Linked DNA regions of Homo sapiens: all the other regions are linked to region 1. Evidence: promoter capture Hi-C in 16 types of primary human blood cells and fetal thymus (Javierre and others, 2016). All regions are on one chromosome and are shown on one strand. The core of a region is centred on a gene start or on the middle of the fragment in contact, and the rest is flanking DNA. Distances in the headings are between cores, read along the strand shown.

Evidence for each region. Contacts are between HindIII fragments. The CHiCAGO score rates a contact against its expected background, and 5 or more counts as called.
Region 2: a contact is called between a fragment that was not itself captured here and the fragment with the promoter of LDAF1 in region 1, in 1 of 17 cell types (endothelial precursors). The highest score is 6.5, in endothelial precursors.
Region 3: a fragment that was not itself captured here is called in contact with the fragment with the promoter of LDAF1 in region 1 in 16 of 17 cell types (total CD8 T cells, naive CD4 T cells, naive CD8 T cells and 13 more); the score reaches 11.5 in total CD8 T cells.
Region 4: a contact is called between a fragment that was not itself captured here and the fragment with the promoter of LDAF1 in region 1, in 13 of 17 cell types (M1 macrophages, total CD4 T cells, megakaryocytes and 10 more). The highest score is 9.5, in M1 macrophages.

What each region holds. Positions count from the first base shown.
Region 1 is chr16:21,157,197-21,160,107 of GRCh38, forward strand. It overlaps LDAF1 (lipid droplet assembly factor 1), which reads left to right and starts at 1,478. Exons shown (of 5, transcript NM_001301771.2): 1 at 1,478-1,550. It also overlaps a transcript of DNAH3 not described here. RefSeq lists silencers at 1,358-1,487, 1,538-1,717 and enhancers at 1,975-2,475, 2,610-2,759. The HindIII fragment of the contact is 5,830 bases long and covers 1-2,911 here.
Region 2 is chr16:20,784,406-20,787,534 of GRCh38, forward strand. It overlaps ACSM3 (acyl-CoA synthetase medium chain family member 3), which reads left to right. Exons shown (of 14, transcript NM_005622.4): 8 at 579-702; 9 at 1,673-1,753. It also overlaps a transcript of ERI2 not described here and the pseudogene RNU6-944P. Among named protein-coding and RNA genes, the nearest start is that of ERI2, 21 kb to the right of the region's middle. The HindIII fragment of the contact is 2,075 bases long and covers 592-2,666 here.
Region 3 is chr16:20,840,712-20,843,838 of GRCh38, forward strand. All of the region lies in intron 15 of REXO5 (RNA exonuclease 5), which reads left to right. Among named protein-coding and RNA genes, the nearest start is that of REXO5, 36 kb to the left of the region's middle. The HindIII fragment of the contact is 3,043 bases long and covers 1-2,894 here.
Region 4 is chr16:20,823,466-20,826,375 of GRCh38, forward strand. REXO5 (RNA exonuclease 5) reads left to right here. Exons shown (of 20, transcript NM_030941.3): 7 at 974-1,062; 8 at 2,368-2,483. Among named protein-coding and RNA genes, the nearest start is that of REXO5, 18 kb to the left of the region's middle. The HindIII fragment of the contact is 4,344 bases long and covers 1-2,910 here.

The DNA of each region.
Region 1 (2,911 bases), core at 228-2,727:
ATTGTCGTGATCATCATCATAAATCATCATCCCAAGCAAATATTTTTGAGCCCCTACTCTGTGCCTCAATAGGTGCTAAGTTCTCGACAGCCACAGCCACACTATTGCACCAGTCCTCACTACAACCCTGTGATTGCTTCTTTTTTTTTTTTTTTTTTTTTGAGACAGGGTCTCACTCTGTTGCCCAGGCTGGAGTGCAGTGTCTTCACTGCAACTTCTACTTCCCAGGTTCAAGCGATACTTCTGCCTCAGCCTCCCGAGTAGCTGGGATTACAGGTGCGCACCACCATGCCTGGCTAGTTTTTATATTTTTAGTAGAGATGGGGTTTCACCATGTTGGCCAGGCTGGTCTGGAACTCCTGGCCTCAAGTGATCTGCCCACCTCAGCCTCCCAAAGTGCTGGGATTATAGGTGTGAGCCACCGCACCCTGCCAGCTTTTTGTTATCTAAAGACTTATTTTCCAGGTTGCTATGGCCACAGGCAAAGAGGAGAGGTCGGTCAACACAGGTCCCTGTCTGGAAAGTGGCTGAGAACTGTGCAACAGCAGACCAATGGTTGGGCTTATCCCTCTCTCTAATTTATGGTTGAAGCCATGGTTCAGAGAGGTTACTTAGTCACACAGTAAGTTGCCATCATGCTCTATAGCAGTGGTTCTCACCTCGGGACGATGGGGCCTTCCAGGGGACATTTGGCAATATTTTGAGACACAACTGGAGGTGGGGGGGGGCGGTTCTTGTAACTGGCATCTAATGGGTAGAGGCTAGGATATTGCTAAACATTCTACAATCCACAGCTCAGAAACAGAATTATTCCGCCCCAAATGTCAATAGCATACTATTCAGAAACCTTACTCTATAGGGCAGATTTGGGGCCAGGGGAAACAGGGGCTCCTGCTCCGACTTGGATCCATGCAAACCGAGGAATTTGGATTGATTTATCTTGTCTCTCTCAGCCTGGACTTTTTCATGTGTAAAATGGACATCCAATCCATCTGAAAGGATCTCACTGGCTTATGACATTCGCATTTGAGCAGTCATGGTTAAAAACTTCCAGCCAGGGTGATACTTCATCACGTGTGTGTCTTGAGCGCCAGAGACGTTCCAGAGCAGCTGGTTTTAGGCATACAGGAGGGGAAACCCTGACACCCTTGGAAAACTCATTCTCGGCTGCCAGTCTGCCTGTCTTGAAGGTGGTCTGAGCTTTCTCACTCCAAGCCAGTCGTGTGGGAAGGGACACTCTCTGAGCCTCAGTTTCCTCAGCTGTCAACCTCTCAGGGCTTGTTCTAGTGGCTCCGAAAGCCAGTGGGAGCGAGCGCGCTTTGCAAAGCCTTGGGCGCCGGGCCTTGGCGCGCCTTTGCCGGATCCTTCCGGCCACGGGCGGGGCGAGCCCAGAGGAGAAGAGCCGAGGGGCGGTGCCCGGGCCAGGGGGCGGAGGCAGGCGGCTCTGGCTCCCTCTCGGGACGCTCTTTCCTTCTTCCTCTTGTTCCTCCTCCTGCCTCTCTTCGCTTCGCCTGCAAACGCGGTGGGGGCTGCTCGGCGGTCAGGAGCAGGTGAGAGCTCGGAGCTTGGGGGTGGGGGTCCGGGTGCCCCGGGTGGCTAGACCCCTCTCGCCGGGCGGGGACAGAGGAGGAGCGCGGGGGCGACGGCGTGAGCGCGCTATCGGGGTCCCACGCCCGTAGCTTTCTGCCCCGGGGTTAGTGTAAGGGGCGTCTCCTGCTTATGAGTCGCCGGGACGGGGCTGGGAGCGCACGAGGAGACACGATTCCTCCCCACCCCTAAATGCACACTCACCCCGCCACCCCCCAACACACACACACATACACACACACACTACCACTAGATTAGGTAAAATGGTAGCTAGCACCACCACACCCCGAGACTGTGCCCCTTTCTGGGGAACCTGGGGAAGACGTCGAGGCAAACCTCCCTAGGATTATTGAAAACGGGCGCCTTCCTCACCACCCAGCCCCTCTTCTCCACCGAGGTCCCCTTCCCCATCGCTGCAGAGAGATCTGCAAGTATCAAAGGGGGCTTCTTTACCCCCAAATTAATAACTAAGTACTCGACTCCCCTCTGAGTTCCCATTATTCAGTCTCTGTGCCTTCTGGGACGCGGACCCCCTCTCCACCTGCATTTCACTCCCTTCCTCCTCTCCTTGGGTCTCCCTGGCTTTTGAACGCTGAAAGGCTGGGCCCGGATGGGGAGGGGCGGCCAGTGTGAGCTCGAGGCGCCCTGTAGCTCCCATCCCCCAACCAGAGATGTGACCCCTCCTCCCAGCTTGAACTTTCGAGGTAGCCGTTTTCCCCTGGAGGTTCGGGGGTGGGAGGGCCAGGAGATTTATTTGGAGCCTTGGAAGGGGAAAGGGTTAGCTGGTGTTGGCCTGGCCCAGTCCCCCAGGCGTGAAGAAGGCGGGGCACTCCTTGGCCGCGCCGGGTTCTCGCTTTCCCTTCTCGGGAGACAGCTCCGTGCCTGGGGAGGCCCCTCCGAGGAGTGAGTGACCAGGGGGTCTGGGAATTGGTGGCCAGGTAGACGCATTTGAAGGCTGTGGCCGATGGCATTCGCCCCACGCACTCTCTCATCGGACTCCCCAAACCGGTCTGGGTGGCACTTGAGGCTCCCAGGCCAAAGGAGACCTGTAAGGGGAACTCCGCTTGTTTCTGCTTGCTGCAGAGATGAGATTATGGGAACTGAGTGCTGGGAACATCCCAAGTTCAAGACCTACGCCAGAGGCAGCTTCAAAGAGAGAATGTGGGGTGGTGGGATTAGTCCCCTCCTCAACTTTCCCCTCCAAAGGGTTTCTTGTTTTACAAAAGGGAAGTAGCAGAGGATGTCTAGCTGGGATGATTAAAATGTGCTTTAATTTGCATACTAGACCCTGTACAGCTTAGTAGTAGATAAAATTACCCCCTAT
Region 2 (3,129 bases), core at 379-2,878, 370 kb before region 1:
CCTCATTTTTCATAGCTGTATAGTATTCCATTGTATAAATATCCCACCATCAGTTTTACCAAACAATTGGTACTTTTCATTGCTGATTTAAAGTGTTATTATGGTGCTCACTTCAGCAGTACATACACTAAAATTGGAATGATACAGAGCAGATTAGCATGGCCCCTGCACAAGGATGACATGCAAATTTTTGAAGCATTCCATGAAAACATAAAAATAAAAACAAAATAAAATAAAATGTTATTATGGGGTACCTTCCCTAAGAACAGAATGACCTTCTTTGTAATAAATTATACCTCCACCACAAAAAGGGGGGTAAAGAAAAACTAGTATTTGGGGTATTCTAGTATCATTCTATGATATTAGAATGATTTATCTTTTTAATATCTTTATTTTTAATTTGTGTAGGTACTTAGTAGTTGTATATGTTTATGGGGTAAAATGGTTTGTTTTGTGCTAGGGAGAGGAATTAAAAAGCGACTAAAACATTTTATATTGAAGTTCATAAGAAATAATCCTTAATCTTCACTTCTCTCCATTTTTCCTCCTAAATCTAACTTATCTGGTTTTCTGAGAAGCTATAAGTTTAAAAGCTTAAAGCACTGTGTGAGTGCTGGGGAACCAATTACCCCTGACGTGACTGAAAAATGGAGAAACAAGACGGGCCTGGATATCTACGAAGGATATGGACAGACTGAAACGGTACCTGACCTCACTGAAAAGACATAGCTGGATTCCATTTAGTCAGATGAATAAAAACCAAAGTGTCCACAGTCTCCTTATGATTATTTGAGGGATAGGAGTTGAGTGGTTAGAAAATGTTTAAAAAAACAATGCTTGCAAGAACCTAATTGCAAAAAAGCTCTGTTAACAGATAGTTGTTTAAATAGCCATTCATTGACAAACACCACTGTTAATGGATCAGAGTAAGGGCATTACAATATTTTTTTAAATGAAATAATACTGGATCTACTGAAAGAAAGAATTCCTCCCAGTGTGATAGGGAAGTATCTTATTTAGGGCTGCCTCAAAATGGAAAATGCTGAGATCCTTGCTGCCTGAAATATTAAGAGTTTGCTGGACAACTCCTTAGCAACCATACTCTAAAAAGGATTTTTTAAAGAGCTCATAGAGATAAGGAATAAGAAATTCTAGAGGAAATGAATGAAATAAGAACAAAAAATGAAATAAGAACAAAAAATGAAATAAGAAAAAAGAACAACAGTGGTTATTTTGTAGAAGAGGGAGGAGTAAGATGAAATAGATAAGGGAAAAGTTGAAAAAACTTTTCACAATGTGTCTTTATAATGCTTCAATTTATGAACCATGAGAATGTATCACCTGGTAAAAAATGAAAATATCAAAAATAAAAATCAAAAATTGAAAAATTCATTAACTAGAAATAGCATAACAAGTATGCTAATATAAATGCAAATGTTAATATACTCATGTTTTGATAAATATGGATATATGAGTAATTATTGTTATAACTATATTTTATACATATGCATGTATTTATATGTTATCACTACATTCCATGAGAGTATAGCATTCATTTTGAGCCTAGTTCATAGTAAGTTTTCAATAAATAATTTGTTGAATGAATGCATGATAGATGAATAAATTTTAAGTGACTTGTAATGTTATCTTACTTTTTCTTCTTCTTAACTAGGTGCTAATCTGTGGAAATTTTAAGGGAATGAAAATTAAACCTGGCTCAATGGGAAAACCTTCTCCTGCTTTCGATGTTAAGGTTTGCACATCCCCTTCCAGGAGAATGTTTAACAACCCAATCTGTACACTACCTACCTACCGCTTACCCCCATATAAACTTTCTTTGTTATGATGGTGATTCCATTTTACTTCCATGATACTTTAATTTTTATAAATATGTGAAAATGATTAGAAATGTTAGCTTCTTGGTCTCCATTATTTTGCAAATACCCATATTGTACCATACAGTTCTAAGCATTTAATAAACGTTAACCCATTAGGCTGGATGCAGTGGCTCACGCCTGTAATCCCAACACTTTGGGAGGCCAAGGCGGGAGCATCACTTGAGCCCAGGAGTTCAAGACCAGCCTGGGCAACAACGTGAGACTTTGTCTCTACAAAAAAATATAAAAAACTAGCCAGGCATGGTGGTACGTGCCTGTGGTCCCAGCTACTCAGAAGGCTGAGATGGGAGGATTGCTTGAGCCTGGGAGCTTGGGGCTGCAGTGAGCCATGATCACACCACTGCACTCTAACCTGGGCCACAGAGCAAGACCCTGTCTCTAAATAAATAAATATTAACCCATTGAATTTCCAGAAGAAACCCTATGAGAAGCATACTAATATTAGAACCATTTTACAAACAAGGCACAAAGAGGTAAAAGAACTCACCAGAAGTCACACAGCTAATAGCTGCTAGAGTTGGGATTCAATCCCAAGCAGTCTGGCTCCAATATCTGCACTCTTAACCACAACACAACACTGGTCCTCTCAGGCAAGGGAGGTCAAGACCTTCTGAGCGGGTCAACTAGGCCCGAAGAGGCTTCAGTTTACAGTGGCTGCAGCACTTTCCCTCTCTGCTCCCAAGCCTGCCTGGCCATTTCCAGCCTCTCTGTATCCACTGCCACTACTACCACCTGATGCCTAGGGGGAATTCCAGTTCCCCATCAGCAAGCTTTATATAGGGTTAAAATTGTTCTCAGATCAACCGAGCTTCAAAGCTGGGTGTAGCCAAAGGAACTTAACACTAATTTGGACACTCCTCAACTTATGATAGGGTTATGTCCCAAAATAATAAGTCATCATAAGTTGAAAACATCCTAAGTCACAAATGCATGGCTGACTGGGAGCTGTGACTTACTGTTGCTGCCCAGCATCTAGAGAGAAAGATGGTTTCAACTGAATGGTTATCTTTTTCACCCATTGTAAAGTTGGGAAATAGTAAGTTCGAACCATTTTAATTCAGAGACCCATCTGTACGTTAAGAGACAGCAAAAGCAGCAAAAATATGGATGAATTAACAGAGTACAGCTCTTAGATAAATGTTTCCCAAGCTTGTTTGATCATAAACATCATATGGATATCTGTTAAAAATACTAATTCTCAGGCCCCTGGAGAGACCAATTCAATAGATTT
Region 3 (3,127 bases), core at 123-2,622, 320 kb before region 1:
AATCCCAGCACTTTGGGAGTTTGAGGAGGGAGGATTGCTTGAGCCCAGGAGTTCAAGACCAGCCTGGGCTCAAGCAATGTGAGACCACATTGCTACAAACAATTTAAAAACAAGAATTAAGAAATCTGTCAGTTTTCATATGTTGGCTCCCATTTCTCAAATACCAGGCCATACGAAAAAATATGTCTGCTGGTTGAATATAACCTGTGGTCCTTATGATTGTACCTCAGCTTTAAATGATAAAATACTCTTTCAAAAAGAGAAGTAACTTTCATATCTTAGAAAGTTACTTCTTTTTTTACATTACAGAGTAGGCTCATGGCTTGCTTGGTTAAGATACAGGAGGAAGATTATGGGAGGGCTTTTGTTGTTATTGTTATCTCTTATCTCTTAGGGTAAGTTTTTGGTATTGTAGGTTTGTATTTACATAAAAGCCCTTTAAAGAGATTAGTTTTACTTTAACAAAAATAATACTTGCATATGGTTTTAAAAATTTATGTAGTTCAAAAGGACTTCACAAGTTATGTCTCCATCTTCACAGTCATAACAATACCATATCAATAGATAAAGTTTATATGTGAAGCAATAACATCATAAGCATATAGAGACATGGAAGAAATCATGAAAAGAAAAATGGAAACAGTGTAATGTAGGATGTTTGTAGAATGATATACAATAAAGGTAACAATGGAGGCCTCTAGGGGGAAGAATTAGGCAGCTAGCTAATGGGATTAGGGGAAGACTTCACTGTAAATATATTGTTCCTTTAGAATTCGGAACTAGGTAACTATTAAACTGGTGTATTACAATGTATGAAAGTGAAGTAAAAACACTTCTAAAGTGATCTAAGTGCAGGATCCTAGATATTTTAAAATGGCTGTCTCTAAATTTTTTAATTTAATTTTTATTTTATTTTTATTTTTGAGACAGAGGCCCAGGCTGCAGTGCAGTGGTGCCATCTTGGCTCACCACAGCCTCTGCCTCCCCAGTTCAAATGATTTCTCATGCCTCAGCCTCCCAAGTAGCTGAGACGACAGGTATGTGCCCCCACGCCTGGCTAATTTTTGTATTTTTAGTAGAGACTGGGTTTCACCATATTGGCCAGGCTGGTCGCGAACTCCTGACCTCAAGTGATCCACCTCCCAAAGTGCTGGGATTACAGGCATGAGCCACTGCACCCAGCTTCCAAATCTTTTATTAATGGCTTTTCTATGACTAAAAATAAAAATACAAAGATTGTCCCTGAGAAGATGGATTGGGGGATGAGAAGTGTATAGCAAGGGACTATAACATCTTCCTTTCTCTTGGCCCCTTTTTTTGGTTGCGGGGGTGGCGGGTAAAATACATATAAAATAAAATGTACCTTTTTAACCATTTTTAAGTGGCATTCAGTATGTTGATATTGTGCAGCTATCATCACCATCCATCTCTAGAACTTTTTCATCATCCCGAACTGAAATTTCCTATTAAGCAATAATTTCCTATTACCCCTCCCCCCAGCCCCTGGTAATCATTGTTTTACTTTCTGTCTTTATGAATTTGACTACTCTGTGTACGTACCTCACATAAGTGGAATCATACAATATTTGTCCTTTTGTGTCTGGTTTATTTCATTTAGCATGTCTTCAAGGTTCATTCATGTTGTAGCATGTATTAGAATTTCATTTTCAAGGCAAAATAATATTCCATTTCATGTATATACCACATTTTGTTTATCCATTTGTTGATGGACATTTGGGTTGTTTCTTGTTTCTACCCTTTGTTTTGTTTGTTTTTTTTTTTTTTGAGATAGGGTCTTGCTCACCCAGGCTGGAGTTCAGTGGCGTGATCACAACTAACTACAGCCTCAACCTCCTGGGCTCGAGCAATCCTCCCACCTCAGCCTCCTGCTGGGACCACAGGCATGCACGCCTGGCTAATTTTTTGTAAGACAGGGTCTCTCTATGTTGCCCAGGCTGATCTTGAACTCCTGGACTCAAGAGATCCACCCACCTTGGCCTCCCAAAGTTCTTGGATTACAGGCGTGAGCCACTGTGCCTGACCCTGGGTTGTTTCTACCTTTGACTATCATGAATAATGCTGCTATGAACATGGTTGTACACATATCTGTTCAAGTCCCTGCTTTCAGTTCTTCTGGGTGTATACCCAGAAGTGGAATTGATGGATCAAATAGTAATTCTATGTTTAATTTTTTGAGGAACCATTATACTGTTTTCCACAGTGGCTATACCATTTTACATTCCTACCAGCAAAGAACAAAGGTTCCAACTTATCTACATCTTCACTGACACTTGTTTTCTATTTTATTTAATAGTAGCCATCCTAATGGATGTGAAATGGTATCTCATTTGGGTTTGATTTGCGTTTCCCTAATGATTAGTGATGTTGAGTGTCGCAGGCAATTTGTACATCTTTTACAGCAAAGTCTATTCACTTGTTTGCCCTTTTTTTCTTATTTATTTTTTTCAGTTCCAGCTACTCTGCAGTGTTTGCCCATTTTTAAATCAGGTTGTTTGGCTTTTTTATTGTTGAATTGTAGGATTTCTCTGTACATTCTGGATATTAATCTTTTATTAGCTATGTGATTGCAACTATTTCTCCATTCTGTGGGTTGCTTTTTGACACTGCTGTTAGTGTCCTTTGATATACAAAAGGTTTTAATTTTTATGAAGTCTAATTTGTCTATTTTTAATTTTGTTGCCTGCCTTTGATGTCATATTCAAGAAACCATTGCCAAATCCAGTGTCATGAAACTTTTCTATGGGAAGGCTTTTATCTCCATATTGATGCTATGGCTCAGATAATCACAAAGATTTAGTTACTCCGAGTTAACAAACAGAAAAGCAGACCATTTGAAGATGTAGCCTATCCAGTGGAAGAACTTATCCTTCCCAAGCTTATAAAGTTAAGCCAAAAGACAAATGGGAATCTCTGCCCGTGACTTGCAGTGATGACTTTAGTGATGCATAATAAATATTATGAAAAGCCTGTTGGGTAGTTCCATTTTAAATGACAAAGTTATTTGTTGTCTGAAAGCTAGTTTCTGAACTTTGATGATCCCATTTAAAGTTGACAGTTTACAATCAATACTTGTGTAGCCCAGCACAGTAAAGGCATCCATTCTGGT
Region 4 (2,910 bases), core at 169-2,668, 330 kb before region 1:
CTACTGTCACATGAGCACGTAGTAAGGGCAGTACTGCTAACACCTATAAAACACCACTGATAATATAGATAAGGTAGGCAGCAAATATAGTGTCTGTGAGATTTGAGGCTGCCTTTCTTCTCTGGGATAGACCATCTTTTGATTCTTTTCATTGCGATTAGTTGGAAATTTCACAGTACCGGGAATCAGAAATTGGTCAAAGGTTTGCATAGCCCCCTTTGTTCCGTGTCAAACAAGATTTAGATGTTACCTTTACTGCTCCAGCCTCTGCCTGAAGGTAGAAATCTTCAACAATTCAGATGCTTTTGGGTTTTTGAGCTAAATATGCATGGTTATGGACTCAGGGTTCACAAATAGAGGGAGTACCTTAAATCTATAGCTGAGCCTCTGTAGGAAATATGTGATTCCAGAAAATGCAGGCAAGGCTCTGAATAGGTGTTTCAGAGGAATCTCACAGGTTGAGTTGGGTGGAGGGACACATATGGTGAATGTTACTTAAACTTTCTTCCTACTATGAAATCCTTTTAGATCTCCATTATGGTGGAATCTCATTCCTATTTTCTCTTCCTGTATTTAGGAAAGAAAGATGCCACATACAGTTATTTGCATACTTTATTCATTCTTTCTTAGTGCTGACATGGAAAGCGCCTAATGACTTTGGGTTTAGCCATGATTTAGTTATCTCTTTTCTCATGAGGAGGAAAAATTGTTACTTGGTAACTGCCAGGAAGTTCAAGCCCCAGAATCTCCTCCTAACAGCAAGCCTACATTATTCTTTCAATATAAAAATGAGTAGATGGAGAAAAACTTGAGGACAGAGATTGTATCTTATTTAGTCATTGTATTTCAAGTGTCTAACATACCAACATATCTGACTAAAATATCTAGTATTGTAGTTTTACCTGCTTGAATCTAAGAGTGATGTTTACCATCTCTATTCTAAAGGCAAACATTTTCTTCCTTTTTCTCCTAGGTTTTCCTGATTGTGAAAACTTTTTACTTACCAAATGTAATGGTTCTATAGCAGACAATAGTCCTCTCTTTGGACTTGACTGTGAAATGGCACGTACTACTTTTAATTTTTCAATTGGAGTGTTGCAAGCTGAGGTCTAGTAGAAAATGATTTCTTGAGTCTAATGCACTAATGAACGAATACATTCATTTTTAGTATTCTGTTTTAATAGCTGAAAGTAGGTCCTTTTACTCACACTTTAGAAAACTTAGATCTGTATTCCAGGATAAAGAATAAATATCACATAAGTGGCTGGGTGCCGTGGCTCACACCTGTAATCCCAGCACTTTGGGAGGCTGAGGCGGGTGGATCATGAGGTCAGGAGATCAAGACCATCCTGGCCAACATGGTGAAACCCCATCTCTACTAAAAATACAAAAAATTAGCTGGGCATGGCAGCATGCACCTGTAGTCCCAGGTACTCGGGAGGCTGAGGCAGGAGAATCGCTTGAACCCAGTAGGCAGAGGTTGCAGTGAGCTGAGATAGCGCCACTGCACTCCAGCCTGGCGACAGAGTGAGACTCGATCTCAAAAAAAAAAAATCACGTTTTCCAACTAGTTACTATGTTTAATCAGGTCTTTGCATGTTGCTAGAAGTTGATTCCTTGTGTTTGAAGAAGTATTTTGTTGTTGCTGCCATGAGGACTTTGCCTTAATTGTTGGTTTGGCTTAGTTTTACACCTTGAAGATCAGAAATAGGATTTCCCTGCTTAAGTTCCCCTCGTGCTTTGCTTTATCTAATTGTAGTAAGCCTCTTTTCAAAGACAGTGCATCCCCTCTCAGTACTCAGGAAACAGTTTCTCAATTCTTAATAGAGTAACTAAGACCTAAAATTTGAGAATCTGACATATCAGGGTGTATATCCTGTCCTTGCCTGTTAGTGGCTATGTCGCCTTAGACAAATACCCCTAACCTATCAGCCTCGGCTTCTCCCTCTGTGAAGTGGGGGTAATAATAAAGCCTACCTCAAAAGGTAATTATGAGAGTGGCATATATAAAATTCTTAGTACAGCACTAGCTGATAATAGAATGGGCTTCATAAAAATTACCTATTAGTGGTATTTAGCATAATACTGGATATAGTACACACTCCATAAATGGTAGATACAATTATTAATATTATTTGCATTCATCTTCTTTGTGCAGACTACACTGTGTTGATCCTCTTAAGTGTAACATTCAGCAGCCTGCCCAGCTTTAATTTCACTCACACTAGATCCTCTAGAAAGCAAGTTTGTGCCATTGCTGCAGGGACCCTGGTAGATTACAGTAGATGGCAGTTGACATAGTGTAAATAGTAAGAAGAAGCAATAACTTCCACAGTTCAGCAGCCTGACTACATGTTGGTCTTTCAGTGCCTCACATCCAAGGGGAGAGAGCTAACACGCATCTCACTGGTTGCTGAAGGAGGCTGCTGTGTTATGGATGAACTGGTCAAACCTGAAAACAAGATTCTGGACTACCTCACCAGGTATTTTTCACCTTGCCTGCAGCTCTTCTAAGAGCTATCGGGCTAGAATGGAATAATACTTAAGAATGGCCCACAGCTTCAGTTTAGTTAGGTTTTATCTACTTAAATATTATCAAAGGTTAGGGCATCACATAGGTATATTTTAATGCTGAAATTGCACAATGTCAGTGTATAATGCTCTTGCCCTTCTTGATCTTCAATCTTCTTGTGACCTTAAGTCAGCAGAATATTATCTTCCTTGTTCCAGAATCTCCCAATTATAATCATTATCTACAACTGCCAAACAGCTAGAGCTTTGCTTTCTGATAAGACCTCATCTGAAAATCTGCAAGTCATCATTTGGCAGTCAAGTGATGTTAGAGCTTAATCTGCCTTGACCCCCAAAACACAAACAAATATTTTTCATAACAGAAATTTGAAGCTGAAA